7 separate regions of the Homo sapiens genome follow, and regions 1, 2, 3, 5, 6 and 7 are each linked to region 4. The links are contacts of gene promoters, found by promoter capture Hi-C in blood cells and fetal thymus (Javierre and others, 2016). All regions are on one chromosome and are shown on one strand. Each heading gives the region's core, a stretch centred on a gene start or on the middle of the fragment in contact. The rest is flanking DNA. Distances are from core to core; before and after follow the strand shown.

Region 1 (3,680 bases), core at 101-2,600, 380 kb after region 4:
TGGGCAACATAGTGGGACCCTACCTCTAGAAAAAAATTTAAAAATTAGCCCACCATGGTGATGCAGACCTGTGGTCCCAGCTACCCGGGAGGCTAAGGTGGGAGAATCTCTTGAGCCTGGGAGGTGGAGATTGCAGTGAACTGAGATCGTGCCTCTGCACTCCAGCTTGGGTGACAGAGCAAGACCCTGTCTCAATAATAATAATATAAATCTTTTGACCAAAAGGAATTCAAAAGTGAAATTATAAAATATTTTAAATTATACATAATAGAATTTGTGAAATGTTCTCAAAGTTCAGACGGAAATTTATAGCATTACTTATAATACTTATATTAGAAAAGGAGAAATGTCTCAAATTAGTGACCCAAGCATCTACCTTAAGAAACTAGGGAGAAAAAAGGAATACTGTTTGCAATCTGTGAGCATTTTTTATATTTAGTGATTAAAATCACAGCCTGGCTACTATCAGGGCCATTTTCCACTTTCTCAGCATGAACTCACTTTTGGTGCCACATTTCTTTTACTGTGAAATAAATTCTTTGATCAGAAGCAATCTTGTGTGAAACAGTGAATAAAGCTAGAGAAGGCGAATCCGTGTTCAAAGTAAGCATCTATTCCAGTGTGGACAAATCAACGTTCCCTGCTTGATGGGGAGGGGCGGGGGTTCAGTGGAATCATCTCTTTGTGCTTATATTTTTGTGCACAAGAATATGACATGCTTCATGAAAGGAAGAACTTAGCTTAGTGCTAAATCCCCAGGGCTCAGGAGGGTGCATGCCACATAGGGGCTCAGTACTTTCGCTGAATGAAGAAATACGCTTAAGTGTTCTATAGTACAGAGTTTTCGCAGGGGCTTTTCCTGTGTTTCTTGGATTATATTTTCCTCAAGATGAACTCTTCATCTTTCTTTCGCAGACTGTGTTTCTTCCTGTCTTTCCTTTCATCTGGGTTCTCTCGTTCCCCTTCTATCATATGTATGTGTGGTTACTGAGCCGTTTCTTTTTTTTTAAGACCGCTTTATTAAGAAGTAATTTATATGCTGTAAAGGTTACCAGCTTAAAGTGTAACTGGCTTTCTTCCCTTAGCACCGTGTTTTTGAGGTTTATTCACCTTATGGTGTGTATCAGTACTTCATTCCTTTATGTGATGAAATAGTATTCCATTATATGAATGAACTACATTTTGTTTATGTATTATTCATCAGTGGGACATTTGGGTTGTTTCCACTTTTTTACTATGAATAATGGTGCTGTAAACGAGTTTTTTAGTGTATGTCCTAAAACCTAAAATAACAATAGACAGATAGGCTCTCCAAAGGAGTTTATCTGGGATTGGTGGGGGATTGCAATCCAAGATACCCATGCCACAATGAACCAAGAAACACCCAAAGATGCTGGGGTCAAGGCAAACTTTTATAAAGACAAAAAGGAGAAAGTCATGTAAGCTGGTTTGAAACAAAAACTCTTGACTGTTGAAGCTCATAGCTCCTCATTGGTCACGCTGGCTGTTGCTGGGGAGATGTCTTCACAGCAGCAGCTTAACATGGAGTGTTTATGGTTTCCAGGGAGTCCTTGTAATAGTTCTTATCATAGGTACATGTGCGTGAGTACTCCTCCTTCAGGGCCTCCCGGATTCATTTTGCTAGGGTTTGACCTAAGTGACCCCATTTTGGTGCTGACAACTTTCACAACATATCTCCACTTCTCTTGGGTGTATACCTAGAAGATTCCCCAAGTCACATGGTAACTCTATGTTTAACATTTTCACAAATTGCCAGACTGTTTTCCTGGGCAGCTACATCACTTTACATCCCCACCAGCAATATATGAAGGTTCCAATTTCTCCACATTCTCATCAATACTTGTTATTGTGTTTTCTTTTTCTTTTATTTTTTAGAGACAGTGTCTCGCTCTGTGGCTCAGGCTGGAGTGCAGTGGTGTGGTCACAGTGTCGATGAAGAGTCCAACTCTGTAAAATATTTGAAGAGATTTATTCCGAACCAAATATGAGTGAGGCACAGTATCAAGAGGTCCTAAGAACATGTGCCCGGTGTGGTCCGGCTACAGCTTGAATTTATACATTTTAGGGAGACATAAGACACCAGTCAATACATGTAAGATGCAGACTGGTTCCATCTGGAAAGGCAGGACAGCTCGAAGCAGGGGCTTCCAGATCATGGGTAGATTCAAGGATTTTCTAATTGGCAATTGGTTGAAAGTGTTATTGTCTAAAGACCTCTAATCAACAGAGGGGAGTGTCTGGGTTATGATAAGGGATTGTGGAGACCAAGGTTCTTATCATGCAGATGAAGCCTCCAGATTGCGAGCTTCAGAGAGAATAGATTGGAAATGTTTCTTAGACTGAAAAAGGTGCCAGATTTGTGACTGATTCTCTGCTGTGTCAGGGAAAAGACCTGAAAGGGAAGGGGATTCTTTGCAGAATGTAGATTTTTCCAAGAGACAGCTATGCGGGGCCATTTCAAGATATGGCAAAGAAACATATTTGGGGTTAAAATATTTTGATTTATCTGTCATGTGATGTTATGCCAGAGTCAGGTTGGAAAGTAAGCCACATCACATAGGGTTAAATAAAACTGCTTTGAGATTTTATAAGGTGCAACTCCCCAGCCCCTTAGATAGGAATTTGGGCAAGAGGGAAAAAAGGTCAGAGTTTAGTCCTCAGTAGCTAACTGTAACTCCACCTCCTGGGCTCAAAGATCGCTCCCACCTCAGCTTCCCAAGTAGCTGGGACCACAGGCGCACACCTGCTTATTTTTATTTATTTTTTTTAGAGACAGGCGTAACTACGTTGCGCAGGCAGGTTAAGAATGCCTTTTATTATAGTCATTCTAGTGGGTGGTGAGTCATTTCATTTTGTTCTCATGTAAAAGGACAACTTCATAATATGTGAACAAATTCCCTTGGTTTTCTCTTCGAGCATTTTGCAAGTTGTATTTTGTGTTCTATTCTACATTCCGTGCCCTGATAGCTAGGAGTGAGGCAGGGAAAAGCTCAGCTGAGACTATATCTTTGCTAGAATATCTGGTCTCTGGTTTCTTGACTAGGATTTTCTAAATGTCCTGAATCAAAGTTTCCTCCCCAGGGAATGATGCAATGACCCCTGGGGGTCACCCCAGGCTTTGGATCCTTTATCTGGTTCAGCAGGGAACCCCTGAACCCATCAGAGTCCCTCCTGTTTGTTCACGAGCCCTCTCTCACTGGTCTCTTCCCAGCAGCCCTTTTCACTTCCCCCAGCAGTAACAGGAGAAAGATATAGATACCTCTCTTTCTCCGAATTAACCTGTTTTTCCTCACCAGTGAGACCCCCCCACCTTTTTTTTTTTTGGAGACAGAGTTTCGCTCTTGTTGCCCAGGCTGGAGTGCAATGGTATGATCTCGGCTCACAGCAGCCTCTGCCTCCCAGGTTCAAGCAATTCTCCTGCCTCAGCCTCCTGAGTAGCTGGGATTACAGGCACCTGCCACCACGCCCACCTAATTGTTTTGTATTTTTAGTAGAGACGGGGGTTTCACCATGTTGGCCAGGCTGGTCTCGAACTCCTAGCCTCAGGTGATCTGCCCGCCTCGGACTCTCAAAGTGCTGGGATTGCAGGTGTGAGCCACCACGTCTGGCCTCCAGTGAGACTTTCTGAGTTTTGTTGCGCCAGCAGGGCCATTTGCGGG
Region 2 (3,774 bases), core at 63-2,562, 480 kb after region 4:
AGGAGAATTGCTGGAACCTAGGAGGTGGAGTTTGTGGTGAGCTGAGATCATGCCATCGCACTCCAGCTTGGGCAACAACAGCAAAACTCCATCTCAAAAAAAAAAAAAAAAAGGAAAATAACAAACCACTCTCTGAGTACATTCAAGTGCCCCCACAAAAAAGTAAGGATGTAAAAGACCCAAACAATATAATTAAAAAGTAGATATTTTGAATATATTCACATTATCAATATGTATATATAAATATCTATCTATATAAACTATACCCTGAAAATGGAAGATGCACCTTCCTCTTAAACAAATGTATAGATTCTTCATATAAATTAATCATTTGTAGAGCTCAAGAAAGACCTCAGTAGGTTTCATAAAGTAGAAATATTAGGTACAACACTCTCAGCCCCCAATGCAATAAAATTAGAAATTAAAAATAAAACAACAACAAAAAGCCTTTTCACATGGAAATTTTAAAACTCTTAAGCATCTCTTTATTGAAAGGAGAAATGAAAAAGGAAAGTACAGACTTTCTTTAAAATAGTGATAATGAAAATACTACAAATCTATGCAATACACAGATCAGTAATCAGAAAAAAATCATAACTCTAACACCTATATTGATAAAAACAAAAGAATGGAAATAAATTCTCAATTGAAAAATTGAGAAAAATGACAGCAAAATAAAGCAATGACAAAGTTCTAATAACACTAAATATACATTTCTTTTTCAACCCAGCAATCCCACTTCTAGAAATTTATTCTGAAGATACAAGAAGGCAAAAATGCATATGCACACAAATTCAACGGAAGAGTTGTGATTGTAAAGTACCTCATAGGAGATTGGTTCAATAAGCTATAGTACACACAAAAAATGGAGCACTATGAAGCTGTTAAAAAAATAATTAAGAGGATCTCTGAACTGATATGGAACGATTTCCAGGAGATTTTATGAAGCAAAAAAAGTAATGTTCAGGCTGGGCACAGTGGCTCACGCAAGTAATCCCAGCACTTTGAGAGGCCAAGGCAGGCAGATCACAAGGTCAAGAGATTGGGACCATCCTGGCCAACATGGTGAAACCCTGTCTCTGCTAAAAATACAAAAATTAGCTGGGCGTGGTGGTGCACGCCTATAGTCCCAGCTATGCAGGAGACTGAGGCAGGAGAATCTCTTGAACCAGGGAGGTGGAGGTTGGAGTGAGCCAAGATCACGCCACTGCACTCCAGCCTGGCAACAGAGTAAGACTCCGTCAAAACAAACAAACAAACAAAAAAAAAACAGTAATGTACACATGTAGTATGTTACATGTTGTATAAGAAAAAAGAGAAAATGAAAACATGCATATATCTGCTTATCATCACAAAAAGAAACAGAAAATAAACTAGAAAACAATGAATTTGGTTATCTACAAGTAGATAACCAAGAGATAAAGGTCCCGACCTCTAATACCTTTCCTCATTAAAGGGTTCCTGGCAGAAAGGCCTATTCCAGAGCTGGGACATTGACTTAGTCCATTTATGTTGCTACAAGGAAATACCTGAGGCTGGATAATTTACAAAGAAAAGAGGTATATTTGGCTCACACTTCTGCAGGCTGTACAAGAAGCATGGTGCCAGCATCTGCATCTGGTGAGGGTTTCAGGAATCTTCCACTCATGGCAGAAGGCAAAGGGGAGCCCACATGTACAAAAGTCACATGACAGGAAAGCAGAAGCAAGAGAGAGGGGAGAGATGTGAGGCTCTTTTAAATAATTAGTTCTCACAGGTGCTAAGAGTGAGGACTCAATCATTACTGTGAGGACAGCACCAAGCCATTCATAAGGCATCTGTCGAGGACGGCACCAAGCCATTCATAAGGGATCTGTCGAGGATGGCACCAAGCCATTCATAAGGGATCTGTCCAGGACGGCACCAAGCCATTCATAAGGGATCTGTCCAGGACGGCACCAAGCCATTCATAAGGGATCTGTCCAGGACGGCACCAAGCCATTCATAAGGGATCTGTCCAGGACGGCACCAAGCCATTCATAAGGGATCTGTCCAGGACGGCACCAAGCCATTCATAAGGGATCTGTCGAGGACGGCACCAAGCCATTCATAAGGGATCTGTCGAGGACGGCACCAAGCCATTCATAAGGGATCTGTCCTCATGAACCAGACACCTCCCACTAGGCCCCACCTGCAACACTGGGGGTGAAATTTCAACATGAGACTTGGAGGGGACAGATATCCAAATGATATCAGACATGTAAGTTCAAGATAAGCGTAGAGCACTTTGTTTTGCTGGAAATTAACAAAGCGCTCTCCACAAAAATGATGGGAACATGATACAAGGGCACAGGAACCAGCTTGAAGGGATCCCACCAGCCAAACCAATTGAACTTCAAAAATAATTAAGTAATGAATTGTAAACCATTAAAAAATATGGGAACTCACAAGTCCAACCAATAATAGAAAAAAATGGGAAAGAAGCCAGAGCTCAGTTTATAGTCTATGCCATGGACTAAATGGCAAACACAGGTAAATGGGAAATTAGAAAACCATCACTTTGCCACCTTCATAGTAAGGACTGGATCAGACAAGAATCATCATGCTCAATCTAGGGGGCAGTGCTGAAAAGCAGCAGGATACTGGCATGGACATAAAATGTTCCCCCACAGGCTGTTAACCAGTTGCAAGGGAGAAAACAAAAAGTAATTATACAATGGAGAAATCAGGCAATATCTTGATCAGGTGATCAAAATGAACATCACCTATGAGGAACAGGTGGACTTTATGTACCTCCAGATGTGATATTCTAAAGAAGGTATAACACCCCTGTACAGAATTTATACCAAGAATACATAACCCCAATCTAATCACAAGGAAACAGCACATAAACACAAAATGAGGAACGTTTGTTTTTAACGGTGGAGGGGAGAAACTGAATTCTTCAAAAATGTTTATATAATGAAAGACAAAATCTGGAATGCTCCAGATTAAATGGTACTAAAGTCATGATGATTAAATGCAATACCTTACTCCAGATTGGATCCTGGAAGGGGTAAAATTGCTACAAAGAACACTATTAGACAAACTGACAAAATTGGAATACAGATGGTACATTAGATAAAAGTATTGTTCATGTAAATTTATGAAGTTGATAATTGTTCTAAAGCTATATGAGATCTCCATCCTTCGTAAAAATAAGCTAAAGTATTTAGTTATGATGTATGTAACTCATGTTCAAATGGTTCAGAAAAAAAATTATAGAAGGAGAGAGAACAAATGTTAAAGCAAAGGATAAAATGTTTGCCTCAAACATAAGCTTCTTAAAACATCCGTAAGATTATGTTTACTCCCCTGGGTAAAACCATCAGGAGCTTTCTACTGCAAATAAAGTAAAATCCAAATTCTTTATCAGGACCTACCAGGCCAGCAAGATCGAGCCTCTGATGGCCTCTCTTAGATTATACCATGACCCCAAACCCGGCAAACCCCTGTGCTGGTTCATGGAGCTCTCAGATCCTCAGAAACATCCCTCTCTCCTGCCTCTGGGATTTTACACATTCGGTGTCTTGCCTTGATAATATCCTCGTCCACTCTTAACGTCTGACTTCTTTTCATCCTGGCAGTTTTAGCTTAGTGCCACCTCCCCACTCCATTTAAGGTTGGCCTGCCCCCATTCTCTCAGTATCCTTTTCTACTATATTGTAACTGTTACCCAACATCCAGGTGCTTAGGAAGGTTATATAATCTGCAGAGTTCACATATCAACCACTTCAATTGCTGACAAAGCTACAA
Region 3 (3,811 bases), core at 741-3,240, 350 kb before region 4:
AGTCCAAGCCCTGGTGGATGCTGTTACTCTCCTTGGAGACAGACACTGCCCTGTGGATGGATTCCAGACCTCATTCAGCCATCACCCATGAGCTTGCTGATGTTTAAAATGCGCTCACACCTTAGCATTGGAGAAAACAGTCTCAGACCCGGAAGAGCCTGGGCCGCGCCTTGCTAGCTTCTGGCTCTAGGCCTCCGTGTCTGCACTGGTCTCTGAGGATCTTCCCAGCTCTGAAGTTCGTGGTGCTGGGCTTTACTTGTTGCCCTAGATAAGTCACCGAGTCATGCTGGGCCAGCCCTCCCCTCCAGGGGTACAGTGGGCAATGGGAGAGACCCCGTGGGGGCCTTGAGCATGACTGGTGAGTGGCTTTTCTGCTCATAGCGCACCCCTTCACTCCCTGCCTGTCTGCGGCAGCCTCAGTCTTAGAGTGTGTTTCCAGAGAATCGGCTCCTTCTCATCCGGAAGGCTGGCTGCCCTCGCTACTTCTCTAACACTTGGAGGTTCCCTCAGATCACACCAAAGAGCCACACAGAACCACCCCCCTACTGGGCTGTTGGAATTTCAGCTGTTTCTAGTGAGAGGTAGAAGAGTCACCCTGCGGTCCCTGAAGCCCTTTACCAGACTGGCTGGACCAGCCTGCTGGGCTCAGAAGGACAGGCACCAGGACAGGTTAGCGGGTGGCAGCCCTGTTCCCAGCCAGCTGTGTGGGCTTCCAGAGGCTCTAACTCACACCTGTAAGTGGAGCGGCTTAGACCAAGGATCCCAGGATGTCATGGTCTGGCATGGGAGGAGATGCTGGCAGAGGCCAGGACAGTGAAGGGACGGCATCGGGGCCTGGAGCGCCTGGGCCGAGAGCCAGGTGGTGGCACTGCCACCCGGGCTTGATCAGAATGTTCACTGATGTTTACGCCTGGGCCAAGTTCAGCAACATCCAAGGTAAATTGTGATCTGTGTTCTGTCCTGGAGGTTGGAAAACTGGTTAAAGAAGCTGCGTCCCGGAGCAATCTGAAGCGGGTGACGCTGGAGCTGGGGGGGAAGAACCCCTGCATCGTGTGTGCGGACGCTGACTGTGAGTCTCTGCCCTCCTGGGCTTTGCTGGGGCTTCAGGGCATCCATCTGTCTCCCCCTACTTCCTGGCCTGAATTCAAAACCAACTGAGAGTAAGATGTGTGCACACACAGTGGGGACGCTTCCACCGTGGGCATCCTGCCCACAGTCAGCCAGCCGCAGACAGGCAGGTGGACATCAAAATGCCAGCTTTACTTCTAGCAGAAAGCTGCCTTCTACTGCCAAAACGATATGGCTTGAGTGGCACCTGAGAGGCTGCCTGTTTCTGCGCCTTAGCGTTAAGTTTACCTGCCTGTTCCTGCAGAGCTGGGGTCACGAGGAGCAGGTCTGGCTTCTCCTCCAGAGCCCCCTGGGAGGAGTGGGGAGGGCAGGTGCTGCCCACTCCCAGTCATTCATTCTCCCCTCCAAGTCACATTTCCTATCATATGTTTTAAGATCCCTGAAGAGTGGAGGTGCTCTTTCCTTGTGTCTCAGACCTGATAAATCAGAGGAGGGCAGTAGCAACTGATCCTTCAAATTACCCGCTTTGCCTGGTTCTAGGCCTGCACCCCTGCCCTGGGAAAGCAACCTGCCCAGCAGTTTGGGGATAGCTTGCGTCTTGACAGCCAAACGACACAGCGTTAAAATATATGCTATTGTTGGCTGCCATGTCCACAAGAGGGAAGGAAGGGCTGGCCGGGCATTCATTCACCTGCTGACAGGGTCAGCTATCAAAAGGTGTGACTTCCCAAGTGCCTTGAAACACCTTTGCCTTAAAGAATAGCCTCCCAGACCTGTCCACGGGTGCCAGAAATTCCTGTCGTGGAGAACAAAGCCTTTCACTTCACACTCAGATAAGGTTGGAATTGCAAATATCCCCAAGAAAAATGACCCTGGCACAATTTCTTACTAAGGTGTAAATGACTGATATCAGTTCCTTTCTGGCAGCTGGCTTTCACAATGGGAGAAAGGACAGGAGGAGGATACAGGCTCTCAGGAAGGAAAGGGGAGCTGGGTGTGAAGATGGACTTTCCATTTCTTGCCTGGGTCAGTGTTCCCTTGTGGAAGCACCATTAGTGCTATGAATAGCAAGTGGTTTTTGGAGCCACACGGAGCATTTCTGGCACTGTGACTCACATTTGGAGTCCCAAACAGCCAGGACTCCTGTTTTGCTTTCCTGTGCCACCGTATCTGGATACGCCACCTGCACTGAAGTTCATCTTCCTCCTCTTGGGGAGGAAAACTGCAGCTAAAGCACAGGACTAATTGTGTTTGGGGCTTGGTTTTACTTACGAGGGTCATAAAAACATGCTGTGTAGCCACCTCCTTCTCCTCATCAGGGCGGTGCCAGTCCACAAATTACATCCTGACATAACCAGCATCCCAGGCAAGACATCAAGGGTAACAAGCCACCATTCCCCTGCCCCTTCGCCTCACCCCTAGCTCCGTCAGGAGCAGGAAATGAGTCTGTTATCTCGGAGGAGGGGCAGTTCCAAGTTGGGACCTGGCCCAGCCAGCTGCAGGGGTCAAGGGTGCAGAGAGGTACCCCCAAACCTTATGGTGCTGTCCTGCTGCCACTGAAACTTCCACAAATGACTCAGCTAGATAGGAGCAGCCTCCTTCTCAAAGCCAAGGGCACAGTCCCTTGGAGCAGCCCCTGTGGAATTGGAACGGATCACCTTCCAATGCCCAGAGCCACTGCCAGCCTCTATGCAAAGGAAAGCTGCATTTCTTAAGAAAGCAATAGTGCGGGGGTTGGTGGTGATGAAACCAGCCAACGGTTGAACACTAGAAACCCCTCTGTAGATGTAAATGACATCCCAATACCATTCTTATCCACTAAGCGTGTCCCCCAAGATCTTATTCTCTAAATACCCTCTGGCTTGGTTTGAATAACTGGTTTTAGTTCAATGTCAGCTCTGCAACTTAGTCAGCCCTTCTAAGTCACACACATGATATTATCTTACTTAATAAGACCCTTCTTTTACTCAAGGTGGAACATTTTGGCTTCTTTAGAAGTTCTCGCCAGGGGGCCTACATCAATAATTACCGAAGTTTATTCTATAAAACATTAGTCCTCTAGAAAAAGGGGAGGGGAGGGGAGTCCTCTAGAAAAAGGCAAGTGAAATGGAGGGTGCTATGACTCTCTGGACTTATTAGCATATTAAAGGTACTGAGAAGTCCTGCAGTCAGGGAATTGATTTAACCCCAAACTTGGTGGACCCCAAAATCCTTTCTCCCTTCCTCTCTATTTGGGAAAGTCTGCAAACAAAATTAATTTCTGAAATGCAGCCATCCTGGGGCCTGTTTTCTTGTGTGGGCAATTAGAATTGCAGCTGTCACCAGTCCTGCTTTAACAACTTAATCGCTTCCTCTCGCTCTGCCCGCCTCCCTCGCCCCTCCCCCTCCAGTGGACTTGGCAGTGGAGTGTGCCCATCAGGGAGTGTTCTTCAACCAAGGCCAGTGTTGCACGGCAGCCTCCAGGGTGTTCGTGGAGGAGCAGGTCTACTCTGAGTTTGTCAGGCGGAGCGTGGAGTATGCCAAGAAACGGCCCGTGGGAGACCCCTTCGATGTCAAAACAGAACAGGGGCCTCAGGTAATCCCCCTGGTGTGTGTGAAACCATGGTGCTTGTCTAGGGGCTGAAGCAGGCAGTCCCATGGCAACCGCCTACAGGGTCCCTCTCCGTGAAAGGAATGCTGACCTGTCCTGCCCAGGAGGCTTTCTTTTCTTTAGAAACTGATCAGAAACACAATCCTGTCAGGT
Region 4 (3,624 bases), core at 431-2,930:
TCCAAAATCATCTCCCTTCTAGAGACTACATTGGCTAATCCCTTTGTTAAACCTGAACACAATTCCAGCTGCTTTTATGACTCATTTGGCCAACTAGAGCCCAGTTACTGGATAACATGCATACACCACCAAGCTGAACTAATTAACACCAGAATGCAGTTTTCCACTGAATCTACCAAGGGCCAAGAACTGCTTTTCCCCAAGGTTCTCTCTCTCTGTACTCAACAGACTGGTGTGGTCCAATATGCTGCGGGCATTCTCTTTCATTTATAGGAGTGCCTCCAACTGCGAAATGTGAGAGTATGATGTGGAAAGGTTCTAGAACTAGATTAACGTACACGGGCTCCAGCTTTGCAAGGACAAAGGTGCACATTTTAGGGAATCCAGTATCAGCCCCAACTGCCTCCACTATCAGGTACTGTGCTATGAGTTTTCCAACATTATGAGGGAGACCCGATCTGTCGGGCCCTTCTAACGAGAAGCTTCGATTTGCAAAGGCTAAAGTGCCTTCATCAGGGTGAGAGGTACACCCAGCGAGGCCACACTAGTCCATCTGACCCCAAAGGCCATGTTCCTGAGCGCCGCGCTCACCATCCCGCCTCTGATCTTTTCTCCCTCGGCCCGGCGTCTCCCGAGAGGCAACCCGATCCCGCCGGAAGCCCAAGAAGGGCCTAGGAAGCGGGCGGAGGCGAGAGCCAGGAGAGCACCCGGGATGCCGGCCGCCGGGATGCCGGACGCAGGAGGCGGTGCCCGGGGAGCAGGGGCTCACCTGTAGGCGGCCACGGCCCGAGTCTGCAGGTATTTCTGGGCGGTCATGACTCCCACGAAGAGAAAGTTCCTGTCGCGCGGGCCGCCATCTGGGTCCGAGCCGGGCGGCCAGAGCTGCGCCCCGCGCGCATCGCCGCGCGCCCCGCCGGCCTGGGAAGCCGCCGCCTGCCCGGACCGGCAGCCCTCGGGGCTGGCGCGGCGCCGTGGGCCCGCTCGCTTCAGCTCGGAAGCCCGGGGCAGGACGAGCCGCGAGGCCAGCACGAAGCCCAGGACGAGCCCGAGCAGCACGCTGAGCCAGGCGCGCCGGCCGCGCGCGGCCATGCCCGCGCCGCTCCGCCCGCCGGGCCGCCGCCGCAGGCTCCGCGCGCCCTCAGCCCGCTGCCCCCGCCCGCGGAGGCCAGCCCGCCCTAGCGCCGCGAGGCCCGGCCCGGGCAGCGCCGCCGCCGCCGCGGGCCCGCCGCGCCCATCGCGGCCCCCGAGCCGCCCGCAGGCCCCGCGCCGGCGCTTTGTTCCGCACGCCCGCCCCCGCCGCCGCGGCCTGCGCCTTTAAGAGGGGACCATGCCCGGCGCGCGCTAGCGGCGGCTCGGGCGCGAGGTGGCGGCGGCTCCTCCCGCTCGCGCGCGGGGACGCGGGGCCGGCACGACGGCGACGACGGCGGCGGCAGACGAGTCCGGGCTCCCGTCCCGCCCTGCCCGCGTCCTCCGGCTGGCTGGGCTCGGTTCGCACGGCGCCTGTCCCCGTCCTCTTCGTAGCCGGCGCCGCCGCCGCAGCTGCACATCCTCCGGCTTAGCTCGCCATTGCAACAGGAGCCCCTCACGTCACGCACGGCGCGTTATGAAGTGGCCCCGCCGGCGGCGAGCCGTGGCCCCTCTCGGGATCCGTCCGCGCCGCGCGATTGGCGCAAAAGTGAATGAGGGGCGGTTCACGTGGCCGAAGTTTGACCAAAAAAAAAAAAAGCCCTCTCGGGCGCCCCGCCCGCGCGGTCTGCGACTGGAGCTGGCGGGCGGAGGGGGCGTGGGCCCCCGCCCGGCGCCCGCGGGGCCGGAGCTGCCCGTGATCCGCACCTAGCACCCGGCGCAAGGGCGTCCCCGCGAGGACGGCCGCTTCCCGCACCGCGGCGCCCGGGCGCGAATCTCGGGAGCCAGCCTTGCAGTGGGGGCTTCTCGGCCCCCAGACTCCACGCTGCGCACGTTCCTCCCGCACGGGCCGTCCTCGCTGCACCCCACGGCCACGCCCTTCCTGCCGCCGGGCCGGCCCCGCGCTCCCGGCCCCGCGCTCCCGACCACACTGCAGCTTTGTCCGCAGTCCCGCGGCCGCACGCAGGGAACAGCCGTCCCGGAGCCCTGGGGACGTGCGCGCCTGCGAGTGGACCGTGAATTCAGTTACCTTGTTCCCTGTTGCTAGTTTCTACGCTAAATAAGAAGAAGAAGAAGAAAAAGCCATCTTTAATACTTAAGGTCCACGCTTCTCATACAGTACTAGCATTTAATGGATCTCGAAGACAAGGAAAATGAAGTTAATGCCCTGGATGGTAAACCCTACTTTCATTTACATACTGTGTGGGCAGATAGCCGGCTAGTACCCCCAGCCTGGGACTTTGTCCCTACTTTAATATAGTCCGTCTGTAAAAGTGCCGTGGATTTCTAAAGACGGATTTTGGGTCCCAGATCCTCTACTCTGGATTTTAAGTTTTATACATTTCCTCTGCAATACTTCAGCTAAGGCAGCAAAAGCGGAGGTCTCCATACAACGAAAGTTTGTGTAGAGTTTCAGTCTTGTTACTTAGTCACCAGTATATTGGGGTTTTCTAATGAAACTTTTGAAGGGCAAAGTGTTTCCCTGGGCCTGAGAAGTTACCTGCATTGAATCAAATAAACACATGCCTGGGGCAATCCTTGGATCTTTCTTCATTGTTGACCAAATGGTTGAAATACTATCACACAGTTTAAAATGCCTGTGGGAGCTTCAGATACCTTCTCGGCACCTGAATGGTGGTCACTCTTGTTTATTCTTTGGATATTACCACTTTCTTTGACACTTGTGATTTATATTAAAAATAGTTCATTACCTACCTTCCCACAGAGCCCCTCCCTAAGGGGTGATCCACATCTAAAAATAAAATACTCATTATGCAGTGAATACAGGATTCCAGCAGTGGTCTTGGGAAAAATACAGAACATACAACCATGAATTACAGGCTCGAAAACCATCGAAAAAGGTTTCCACTAAGACCATAAACCACAAATGCCGAGGAGTCACCAGATCCCCCAAATTCAGCAGCCCCATCATTCACAGTGATTTACATGAAGTACGAATCTGGCCAGATTCAGATGTTCAATTTTGTAGCATATTCAACGATTTCAGTATTTTCTAACCTGCTTTAGACTTACCTAGTTTTCTTCGAAACTAGTGTCCAGTGAAAAGCTGGCCGGGCGCGGTGGCTCACGCCTGTAAACCCAGCACTCTGGGAGGCTGAGGCGGGCGGATCGCCTGAGGTCAGGAGTTCGAGACCAACCTGACCAACATGGAGAAACCCCGACTCTACTAAAAATACAAAATTAGCCGGGGGTGGTGGTGCATGCCTGTAATCCCAGCTACTCGGGAGGCTGAGGCAGGAGAATCGCTTGAACCCGGGAGGTGGAGGTTGCTGTGAGCCGAGATCGTGCCATTGCATTGCACTGCAGCCTGGGCGACAACAGCGAAACTCCGTCTCAAGGAAAAAAAAAAAAAAAGTATATAAATATCTGATGGGAATAATATTCTGAGGATGCCAAATATTTTGTCCTCCTCAATATCCTGGTTCCTAGTTGTCCCTCAGTTCCTAGGTTAACAGTCTCACCTGTCTCACCTGCAGG
Region 5 (3,779 bases), core at 841-3,340, 410 kb after region 4:
GATAGTAGTGAATCCCTTAATGTCAGTGCAATGCTTTACTTATTTGCTATAAAATCTCTTTCATAGTCAGAAGCACTGTTGTGTTCCTGGCAGCACCTAAGTACATATTTGGTGCCACTGGCAGAAGCATGGCAGCAAAGAAGAGCAAAGCAAAATCCACAGTGAGTCTCTCTTCAGTGAGAATGAGGCATTGCTCCTTACATGATGAAAGGGATCCAACGTAATCAACCTGCTACAAGACCACTGGCTATTACCCCAGGTTATGGTACCATCCCGGGGGATCACAATTAATCACTGACTGATGGCAACCTGAATTCTCAGAAGAGATGTAGCCAGATGGAACTTAGTGAGGCAAAGTCCATGTCTTTGAGCCCATGCCTATCCACCAGTGGCCACTTTGCCCATGAGCCATTGAGCAACAACTAGGGGAAAAAGCAGCTGATTTTAACAGAATGGGTCCTCTTGTATTGGAATACTGAAAAATTCCTCAACAGCGGGGGCCTTTTGGTGGCAATACCACCTCTGTTGGCCCATTCTGAGTGATCATCCACATTTCTGCTTCCCAAATCTATGTAATTTGTTTTTCAATCTAATTAGTTCTAAATCTTTGACTCTGTGGCCAAAGCAGTAACTAGAGCCTGTGCATCCATGTAACTCCTTATCTCCGGCCATTCTTCCTTCCGGGCAAAAAGGACCACAGGATGCACCACTCAAAAAGGACCACAAGATGCACCACTCAAAAAAGACCACAAGATGCACCACTCAAAATTCTGCACTTTAGGACACTTCCCTTCCCCACTGTCATCCTAAATGGGCTGTGCTGCTGAGCCATCCTCTTTGAGTTTGTGCCATTTATGAATCAGGTTTACATGTTTTCCTCCTCAGTGGCTGTAGGGAACCCCAAAGGCAAACAATATGGGTTGAAGGAAGGATGGCTGGAGGGCAAGAGGTGGTACCTAGGAGTGTGGGTCACATGTTTTCAGGACAGCAACTAGATCTCTGAAGGGCTTGAAACAGGTAAAAAGATAACTTTAATTCTACCGAGTCCCCCAAAAGGTAAATGGTACAGTTTTATGCCACTCTCCCTTAGTTTTTATTTTCTGATCTGGCAAATCGAATAAGAATTCTTTATTTGCTGTTTGGACAATTGCTAATTACAAGGCAGGAAAGGCCCTTTCTTTTGTTACTACTTTTTTCTTTTACACATGATTTTTTAAGAATAGAAATATTTTTAAAAAGGAAAAATGAGTAAATTAATAAAAATTAAAAAGAATAATAGACATATAGTTTTTCTTTTCCATATCACTTACCATTTTCCGCCATAGTTTTCTGAAAGAATGGCTATCATTCTTTCCACTGATCCCAAAATGGCTCGATGAATGATCACAGGTCTCTTCTTATCATCCCCATCCTTACTAAAAAATGAAAATTATACATTTAAGTCTTTTCCTAAGATTCAATAACTATCTTCTAGCCTTATATTTAATTTTGAGAATAGATTTAGATTAGTGATATCAGATCTCTCCATTAACCTTATTTGTTCTGTGACTGTCTTGTTTTCTCATTGCTTTCTTTGCTAATCTTTTTTCTTTTATTTTAAAAACTTTTTATTAGAGCGCACTGAAACATATACAAAAGTAGAGAGAAGAGTATAATGAACTTCCACATACCCTCTCTCAGCTTCACAAAATGTCAACTCACAGCCAATCTCATCTGATCCAAATGCACCCCCATTCTTGCCACTATCTCCCACATTATAATCTTCATTTTTAAAATGTTCCTGATATGTGTTCTTGAAGTCCACTGGTCAAATTCCCTGAAACCCTCATGAGGTGTATCTTACATTTAATTATTCCCTCTTCCCCTTAGGAAAAAAAAATGAAAAAAGCAAATGATGACTTAATTGTAATGAAGTAAGCCACTTCAAGATCTCTGCACAAGCACAAGCTTCTCAGAAAGATAAATTTCACATTATTGCAACAAATGTGACATGCGACACTTACAAAGTTCTTTTGATAAATTTTTATCTAAAAATTATACCAGCTAGCTACTACTACAATAAATGAAACAAATTTAACAAATAAATAATAAAATAAAACAAACAAAAACAGAGAAACCCATTCATTAAACCTACTTCAAATGAGTTGTAACTGGATATCATCACTGCCAACCATTTCTGCTAAGAGCCATTATAGAATAACTGCAGGCAAAACTCTCTGTCTGGACCCTACAGGAAGCTTTGGGGTAGGGGTGAGCGGCTTGAGTCCATTCCTATGCAGGTATATGAAGAAATTCATCCCAAAAATTGAAACCAGTATGAAATATTCCTGAATATCCCATCATGTTGATTTTGTGTAGGGAAGAAAGAGAAGCAAACTGATCCTTTCACAGAGCCTGGGTATCCAAAATTTCTGTCCCATCATTTCTTTGAATCATGTCTAGACTTAAGAAGAGCAAATAGTGACATAAACTATGATTACACATCTGTGCTATCAGATAAACATTGGAATGAATGCCAAATTCCCCCAAAATAACCCCAGTGGATTTGCTTACAATTATATTAGATTAATAGATAAATTTGAAGAGAATAACTTCACAATGTTGATTCTTCTCATTCCAAAGTGTGGTACGAATCTTCATTTAAATAACTCTTTTTTGTGGTCTTGGAGAAAAACTTATAGCGTATGCTTATAAATAACATCTATAGTCATGTGTTGCCTAATGACATTTTGGTCAACAATGGACTGCAGATATGATGGTGGTCCCACGAGATTATAAAGAAGCTGAAAAAAATTTTTTTTTAAATTATACTTTAAGTTCTAGGGTACATGTGCACAATGTGCAGGTTTGTTACATATGTATACATGAGCCACGCTGGTGTCCTGCACCCAAGGAAGCTGAAAAATTCCTATCATCTAGTGATCTGTGTTACAAGTACCTAGAGCATTCAGTACAGTAACATTCTGCACAGGTTTGGAGCTAGCAGCAATAGGCTATCCCATACAGCTTAAGTGTGTAGTGGCCTATGCCATCTAGGTTTGTGTAAGTACACTCCGTGATGTTCACACAACAATGATATTGCCTAACGACACATTTCTCCAAACATATCCCTGTCATGACTACATTTATGGGGATGCATGACTATATTTATATTTATTAAGTTTATTCATATTTTCTATTTTGTGGTTGCTGTTGCTTCTGAAATGTTTTTTCCATTGCATTTCCTAGCAGATTATTGCTAACATTATGAAGGCAAATTGATTTTTGCATTTTTACCTTCCATTATTATTAGTGCCCATTTCTCCATTTGATTCTGTTGGATTTCTCTATATTTTAACATCTACTAATAATAATTTTATCTCTTGCTTTCATGTATTTGTAATCCCAGAATAATTTTGAGTAACAATACAAATAGTAGTCATATTCGTCTTCTTCCCAACTGTGTTGAGATGCTATTGCTGTTTTCTGATAAAAGCTCTTTATCGTGATAAGGAAATTTCTGTTCATTTCACAGGAATGAATGTTAACTTTTATCTGATGCCTTTCTGCATGCTGAATGTAATGAATGACAACAGCACACTCTCATCCACCCCTGCTTTTTTAGGGAAAAACCCTTACTCAATCATGGTGATGACCTTGATGCTTCTCTCTCTCCTCTCATACATAAGCCTGAGCAAATCACATCAGTTCTTCCTCCAAAATACACTTCCAGTACCCCTACTTTGTTCATCTCTATGCCACCTGGCTCCAACTGTCATCATTTCTTACCTGGTCTGCAA
Region 6 (3,873 bases), core at 434-2,933, 300 kb before region 4:
CAGACCACTACCTCTTTCAAATATAGATGCAAAATCTCAACAAGACACTAGCAAACCGAATTTAGTAACACATAAAAAGGATTATACGCCATGACCAAGTGGAATTTATCTTAGGATTCCAAGCTTGGTTTAACATCAATCAATATAATAATCCATATTAATAGAATAAAGGAGAAAAAATATATGATCATCTCAATAGACACAGAAAAGCATTTAACAAAATTCACTACCCTTTGATGAGAAACACTCAGTAAACTAGTAATAGAAGGAAACTTCCTCAATCTGATAAACTGCATCTGTTAACAAAAAAAAAACCCATAACTAACATCATACTTAATAGTGAAAGACTGACTGCTTTCTCCCTAACATCAGGAACAAAACAAGGATGTCCACTCTCACTACTTCTATTCAACATTACACTGGAGGTTCTTGCCAGGGCAAAGACAAGAAAAAGAAATGAAATCCAAATTGGAGAGGTAAAACTATATTTTCCGGTGACATCATACTGTACGTAGAATATTCTAAACAACACACAAAAGACAATTAGAACTAATAGTTCAGCAAATTTGCAGGATGCAAGATCAAAATGTAAAAATCAATTGTGGTTGTATGAATTATCACTTAACAATCTGAAAATTTAATTAAGAAAACACATTTACAATAGTATCCAAAAGAATAAAAAATTTGGGAATAAATGTAACAAAAGAAGCGTAAGATTTATACACCAAAAACTGCAAAACATTGTGGAAAGAAGTTAAAAAGAACCTGAATAAATGAAAAAACATTCTGTATTCATGGATTGGAAGACTTAATAATGGTAAGATGGCAATACTCCCCAAATTGACTTATGCATTCAATGCAGTCTCTTTAAAATCCTAGCTGAAATTCTTACAAAAATGGCAAGATGATTCTAATATTCAAATAAAATACAAGAGAATGGCTAAACCTATAAAACTCTTAAAAGAAAACAGGATTAAATCTTTATGACCTTGGATTAGGCAATAGTTTCTCAGATACTACACCAAAAACACAAGCGACAAAAGGAAAAATAGGTAGTAAGTTGGACTTCATCAGTTAAAAATTTTTGTTCTTCAATAGACATAATCAAGAAAGTGAAAAGAACCTGTGAAATGGGAGAAAATATTTCCAAATTATTTATCTTTAAAGGACTTGTATCTGATTATATAAAGAACTCTCACAATTCAGCAACAAAAAAACAACCCAATTTAAAAAAGAGCAGGCCGGGCGCGGTGGCTCGCGCCTGTCATCCCAGCACTTTGGGAGGCCAAGGCGGGCAGATCACGAGGTCAGGAGATCGAGACCATCCTGGCTAACACGGTGAAACGCCATCTCTACTAAAAATACAAAAAATTAGCCGGGCGTGGTGGCGGGCGCCTGTAGTCCCAGCTATTTGGGAGGCTGAGGCAGGAGAATGGCGTGAACCCGGGAGGCGGAGCTTGCAGGGAGCAGAGGTTGCGCCACCGCACTCCAGCCTGGGCTACAGAGTGAGACTCCGTCTCAGAAAAAAAGAGCAAAGGGTCTAAACAGACTAAATAGACATTTATCCAAAGAAGATGTGAAAATGGCCAATCAGCACATGAAAAGATGCTCAACATCATTAATCATTATGGAAATGCGAAGCAAAACCACCATGAGATACCACTTCACACCCAACAGAAAGGACAACAGAAAGACAGATGGAAAATGGCAAGCGGTAGTCAGGATATGGAGAAATTGGAGCGTTCATTCATTGAAGGTGGGACTGGAACATGCTGCAGGCAGTTTGGAAAATGGTTTGGCAGTTTCTCAACATTTTGAACATGCAATTACCATATGACCCAGCAATTCCACTCCTGAGTATATACACAAGAGAACTGAGGGCAGATATTCACAGAAAAACTTGCACATAAGTGATCACGGTAGCATTATTCCTAATAACCAAAAAGTGGAAAAACCCAAGCTCCCATCAGCTGATGAATAAATAAACAAATGTGGTCTATTCATACAGTGGAATATTACGCAGCAATAGCAAGGAAATAATAGCATTACTAGCAAGTATGAATTAATACTTAATAATTAAATAATAAGGCCGGGCATAGTGGCTCACACCTGTAATCCCAGCACTTTGGGAGGCCGAGACAGGTGGATCATCTCAGGTCAGGAGTTTGAGACCAGCCTGGCCAACATGGTGAAATCCTGTTTCTACTAAAAATACAAATATTAGCCAGGCATGGTGGCATGCGTCTGTAATCCCAGCTACTTAGGAGGCTGAGGCAGGAGAATGGCTTGAACGCGGGAGGCAGAGGTTGCAAGTGAGCTGAGATCGCACCATTGCACTCCCACTTGGGCAACAAGAGCGAAACTCCATCTCAGAAAAAAAAAAATAATAATAATAATAATAATAAAATAATAGTATTATTAAGAGTAAGTACTAATATATGCTACAACATGAATAAGTCTTGAAAACATGCTGAGTGAAAGAACTAAGTCACAAAAACCATATTGTATTATTCCACGTATATGACATGTTCAGAAGAGGCAAACTGTAGAGATAGAAAGTAGATTAGTGGTTGGCAGGGACCTGGAGGAGGAAGTGGGAACTGACTGGTATAAGCGTATATTTGCAGGGTGGTACAAATGTTTTAAAATTAGAAAGCGGTGATAGTTACACAACTCTGTGAATATATTCAAACCCACTGAATTGTACACTTTTAAATGGTGAATTTTATGATACGTGAATTATCTCTCAATAAAGCTGTGATCTTTTAAATGTGACCGATGTATCCATCTTTTATTACTTCTGGGTTGTGAGCCACAGTTAAAGGGGTTATACACTCCCAGGCTAAAAAGGAATTTGCCTGTGTTTTCTTCTAATGCCTACATCGTTTTATTTTTTTACATTATATCTCTAATTCATTTGGAATTATCTTGGTGTTTCACGGGAGTAACGGATCTGATCATATATTTTTCCATGTGGCTATCCAGTTGGACAAACACCATTGATTAGCCCACTCTTCTTTGTGGGGCCCTTCTCACAGGACCTGACTCCTGCCCTGGCCCACTCTTTCCTCTGATGGAGACAGCATTCAATCCCAGCATACCTTTCCCTGGAAATGGTATCAAATGCTTGTCAGGCTTTCAGGTACATCCACGTTTTATCACAGTAATCATTCCCATCAGTGATTTTTATGGTGATTAACCAGACAATTAACTCGGCTGCCTCCAGGTTTTAAGTCTGCGTCATAAAGCTTACATCTTACTTGGGAATATTACTGGGCATTCCTTATGCTTTAAGCAAGATCTTTTAACAGAATCTATTGACCAAAATTAACTCTAGGGCCACTCATTTGAATGTTGGCTAATCTCATTAAGCAGCATTTTTATTCACTTACTTTACAGTTTTATTGAGGTATAATTGCCAAATAAAAATTATATATTTCATGTATATAATGTGATTATTTGATATACATAAATGTTGCAAAATGATGAGCATAATCAAGTTAATGAACACATCTACCATTTCACATAATTACCTTTGTGTGCCCGTGTGTATTAACAACACTTAAGATCTACTCTTTTAGTAAATTTCAAGTATACAATTCAGTATTATTAACTATATACTCAACAGGCTGTACATTAGATCCCCGAACTTACTCATCTTATAACTAAAAGTTTGTACCCTTCAACCAACACCTCCCTATTTCTCCCATGCCCCAGCTCTTGGCAACCACCATTCACTCTCGGCTTCTTTAATTTGGACTTTTTAAGATTCCACATATAAGTGAGATCATAGAGTATTTGTCTTCTGTGTCTGGCCTATTTCACTTAGCATAATGTTCTCCAGGTTCACCCATGTTGCAAATGACAGAATTT
Region 7 (3,507 bases), core at 524-3,023, 320 kb before region 4:
AGAGCACTGCCCACCACCGGACCCAGCATGGACCAAAGGAGGAGAAGGAACATTCCAGAAGTTCTTCAAATCCCAGGTTGTTTCATGGCTACTTCCAATGTCTTGTTTTTTTCTCCTTTGGCTTTTGCGAATCTGTATTTGAAATACAACTCCTTAATATAGGAGCTAAGAGGTTTGCTCAAGTAGGGTCTCTTCCTGCCTTCCAGAAATAGAACTAGGAAATAGATCAAATTAGGAAGAGCCTCTAGGGTGGCAGCCAGCCTTCTTGTCAGGCCACAGCAGGAAAGTCTACGAGGGACAGATCCCCAGTGATGAGCCAGCCCACATCTCTGACCTGTTCCTCCTGTTGGATTCCTGCCTGAACGTGCTGGGCTGTGTTCACACCGTGAGAGCCACAGGAAACAGGGCAGGCAGGGCCTTGCAGGGAAGGAGATTCCAGCCTGGCTGCAGGAGTTCACCAGCCCCTCCAGGGAGCACAGCCACGTCTGGTCAGGAATCTTTTAATGAGTGAGGAGAAGGACAGGGAAGCTGATTGGTGGCCCAGGTGGCAGGCGAGGTGGCTGTGTGCGTCCATCCATGCAGGTGGCAGTTAGCACAGCTGTGCTTCATGCTTACAAAGCAGAGGCCAGCTACAGATGCTCCAGGCCCTTGATGAGCCTTTGAACATTCGTTTTAACCTGAGGCTTAGATCTTCTCCTGGTTACTTGTCTGGAATGTGCTTGCTTACTTCTAGCAATGGGGAGCTGACTCCCTAGCAAACAACGCCAGCCTTTCTGTGGGCAGCTCTGGTAGGAAGTGGATGCTGTGGGGCTCTCTTTGCACCAGGCTTTATTCATTTAGACAGATCGGAATCCCTTAACCCATTTCTTGGAGTCACTAAAAGCAGATGTGTTGCCCTCCCTGCAGATTCCTTTTTAGGCTGAGTAAGCCATCCCACGGACAGGCCGCCGGCAACTTTACACGTTCCGCTTGGATATCCAAGAGTTTTTTGACTTCTCAGTCTGTCTGTGGGCTAATTATTAGGCCATACACACCTGGGTCCACAGGGAGAGCTGCCCCTACCTGCTTCCCCACCCTGCCGTGGACCGGCTTTCAGGAGCACCCCCACTGATCCACCCCATCCTAGGTGGCCCAAGCCTGAATGTGGTAGCTCACCAGAGCCCCAGTCCTCACCCCCTCCCTGGCCTCCCCCACCCCACACTTGCTCCTGACTTGGCCTCCTTTATGTGGGGTGTGCAGGGCAGCCCTATCTGGTGGCCTCTGTGCTTGCTAGGGAGCAGCCCAGGCTCACTTGGCATGCATTCAGCCACCAAGAGAGAAGATTTTCTTACCAGCCATCTGCCCTGGCCCCCATGAAGAGATCAGTAGCCTGAGAGCAGGGAGATGTCCATGTGGGCCTCCCCAGGCCCCTGTGCAGAGCGACAAGGATTTTCACCCCTCCTGGTTTGCCTGAGTCAGACTTTGAAGGAGCCATCACTAGGGATTTTTATGAAATTCTTTAGTTCTCTGGGAATGGAGCCCTCCCACCACTCCCAATGCCATGTAAGTCTAAACTTGAGTGTGTGAATTGCACGCACATTTTTGGAAAGTTTGATGAATGAAAATAAGAAGCTGCTATTATTCTTTGGAAGTCCCAATTCTGAGTCCCTTCACTATTCAGGCCACCCTTGGGTTCAGTTTGTCCAGATTCCACTTAGCCATCTTGCTACTTATTGGGTGACATTTGTCATAAAAAAGAAACGAGAAAACCGAACAGAAACACATATCTCAAGCAATAGAGTCCTTCCTGAGCTCATCACCCCCATGCTGCACAAAGAAGCACACATTAATCAGAACTTGTATTTTCAACTGTAAAGAACTTTTGAGGATTGCAGTTCCTTTTGCTAATGCTGCTGGGGTTGTGCCTGGCGACATCCTCTCATCCTCCATTCAACATCCAGCACCCAGGGGCCGTGGCACATTGCCAAATGTTGGCTTAAAATCACCTACCTGGTCGTTTCAGGAGAACCGAGAACAAAAATAACTTACGTGACACTTTGAACTTTTCAGTGACTCAGAGATATTTAAAGGCAGAGAACATCTTAATCGATTATTTTAAATATGAAGCCATGTTACGATGCAAATTTGAGGTTAGAAATTGAATGTAAGTGGACAGGAATGGCTCTCTGAAGTTCCTGTTAGCAGCTTAGTTTGGACTTGACACAGCCGTGTGAACTCAGAGAGGCAAGTGGGTGGTCACAGGTGGCCCACACCTGCAGGGTTAGAGATGGAAGGTTCAGGGCCTCGATCTGCTGGTGGGGCTGGCGCGGGAGGCCAGGGCAGGGCTCCTCCAGTCATTCTGCCCCCACCCCAGCTTCCAGGCAAAAATGGCTCCAGTGGGCCGTCACTCCAGTCTCTGTGCAACCTTCACCAGCACCCACGGGTTCAAAAATAAGAAGCAAGCGAAGAACCGCTGCCTGACAGTGCACTATGAGCATTCTCCTGGTGCCTGACTCCTCCCTGAAGGTTAAGAAAAAAGTTATTTATATGGAATTCCACAATTCACACAGTGGATTGACATGATAAGAGAAAGCCACAGTTATTCTTGGCCCCCTTTCCATCATGCCCATGGGTAATCACTGTTAGCTGAGTGTGTTTTCTTTTTGTTTGTTTGTTTGTTTTGAGACGGAGTTTCATTCTTGTCATTCAGGCTGGAGTGCAATGGCGCAACCTCGGCTCACTGCAACCTCCACCTCCAGGGTTCAAGCGATTCTCCTGCCTCAGCCTCCTGAGTAGCTGGGATTACAGGCACTCGCCACCACGCCCAGCAAATTTTTGTATTTTTAGTAGAGATGGTGTTTCACCATGTTGGCCGGGCTGGTCTGGAACTCCTGACCTCAAGTGATCCACTCGTCTCGGCCTCCCAAAGTGCTGAGATTACAGGCGTGAGCCACAGCACCTGGCCTGAGTGTGTTTTCTTCCTAACCTCTTCCAAAGCACATGTATGGTTATCTTTGTATATATTTCTGGTTTTACATGCATATTCAGTTGTACATACTATTGTACAACTTTTTTCCCTTGAGGATGTCTCAGAGTTCCCTCTATATGCACCACATCTGGTGTGAATCCAACCATCTTTCATCAATGTCTTATTAAAGGGTCTTTAGATTCTTTCTACCTTTTGCTTCTAAGAGTTGAATATTACTGCATATGCCCCAGCAGAATGGCGGGATCACAGAACAAGCACATTAAAAATTATCAAAGGAAGGCATACCCCTGGTTAATGAAGGCTGTCAGACAGAAGGGACTATAATATAGGAAAAGCAACAAGGCCCTGCCCCAGTGTCAACTTCCCAAAAGAGTTGTTATTTCCTGTTTCTGGTTTTAGTTCTTCAGGTAATTATCATTTCTCAATGTAAAGAAGATGCCTGCACCTCTCTATTGCTGATCCGTTGAAACAGTGCCTGTTGACTTCCTGCCATAATAAATGAATATTTCCTTCCCTTTTGCACCCCATCTATCTGCTGC

The links. The method cuts DNA at HindIII sites, captures the fragments that hold promoters and counts their contacts. A CHiCAGO score of 5 or more calls a contact.
Region 1: a contact is called between a fragment that was not itself captured here and the fragment with the promoter of CHSY1 in region 4, in 5 of 17 cell types (neutrophils, naive B cells, total B cells and 2 more). The highest score is 10.2, in neutrophils.
Region 2: a fragment that was not itself captured here is called in contact with the fragment with the promoter of CHSY1 in region 4 in 2 of 17 cell types (neutrophils and naive B cells); the score reaches 5.4 in neutrophils.
Region 3: a contact is called between a fragment that was not itself captured here and the fragment with the promoter of CHSY1 in region 4, in 5 of 17 cell types (M0 macrophages, M1 macrophages, endothelial precursors and 2 more). The highest score is 8.1, in M0 macrophages.
Region 5: a contact is called between a fragment that was not itself captured here and the fragment with the promoter of CHSY1 in region 4, in 1 of 17 cell types (naive B cells). The highest score is 5.6, in naive B cells.
Region 6: a contact is called between a fragment that was not itself captured here and the fragment with the promoter of CHSY1 in region 4, in 3 of 17 cell types (M0 macrophages, M2 macrophages and monocytes). The highest score is 7.0, in M0 macrophages.
Region 7: a fragment that was not itself captured here is called in contact with the fragment with the promoter of CHSY1 in region 4 in 7 of 17 cell types (naive B cells, M0 macrophages, M2 macrophages and 4 more); the score reaches 8.7 in naive B cells.

Annotation. Positions count from the first base shown.
Region 1 is chr15:101,634,967-101,638,646 of GRCh38, forward strand. It overlaps a transcript of TM2D3 not described here. Among named protein-coding and RNA genes, the nearest start is that of TM2D3, 16 kb to the right of the region's middle. The HindIII fragment of the contact is 6,033 bases long and covers 1-3,680 here.
Region 2 is chr15:101,728,505-101,732,278 of GRCh38, forward strand. No RefSeq gene overlaps it. Among named protein-coding and RNA genes, the nearest start is that of TARS3, 5.9 kb to the left of the region's middle. The HindIII fragment of the contact is 3,967 bases long and covers 1-3,296 here.
Region 3 is chr15:100,897,117-100,900,927 of GRCh38, forward strand. ALDH1A3 (aldehyde dehydrogenase 1 family member A3) reads left to right here. Exons shown (of 13, transcript NM_000693.4): 8 at 967-1,069; 9 at 3,459-3,643. All of the region lies in intron 1 of ALDH1A3-AS1 (ALDH1A3 antisense RNA 1), which reads right to left. Among named protein-coding and RNA genes, the nearest start is that of ALDH1A3, 19 kb to the left of the region's middle. The HindIII fragment of the contact is 5,242 bases long and covers 1-3,811 here.
Region 4 is chr15:101,250,368-101,253,991 of GRCh38, forward strand. CHSY1 (chondroitin sulfate synthase 1) reads right to left here and starts at 1,681. Exons shown (of 3, transcript NM_014918.5): 1 at 770-1,681. The coding sequence starts at 1,089. RefSeq lists silencers at 666-1,095, 1,286-1,595, 1,766-2,145. The HindIII fragment of the contact is 7,881 bases long and covers 481-3,624 here.
Region 5 is chr15:101,660,402-101,664,180 of GRCh38, forward strand. It overlaps TARS3 (threonyl-tRNA synthetase 3), which reads right to left. Exons shown (of 19, transcript NM_152334.3): 16 at 1,311-1,415. Among named protein-coding and RNA genes, the nearest start is that of TM2D3, 9.9 kb to the left of the region's middle. The HindIII fragment of the contact is 290 bases long and covers 1,946-2,235 here.
Region 6 is chr15:100,949,583-100,953,455 of GRCh38, forward strand. The region is part of intron 2 of LRRK1 (leucine rich repeat kinase 1); the gene reads left to right. Among named protein-coding and RNA genes, the nearest start is that of LRRK1, 32 kb to the left of the region's middle. The HindIII fragment of the contact is 3,125 bases long and covers 122-3,246 here.
Region 7 is chr15:100,929,342-100,932,848 of GRCh38, forward strand. All of the region lies in intron 2 of LRRK1 (leucine rich repeat kinase 1), which reads left to right. Among named protein-coding and RNA genes, the nearest start is that of LRRK1, 12 kb to the left of the region's middle. RefSeq lists an enhancer at 1-930. The HindIII fragment of the contact is 4,271 bases long and covers 1-3,507 here.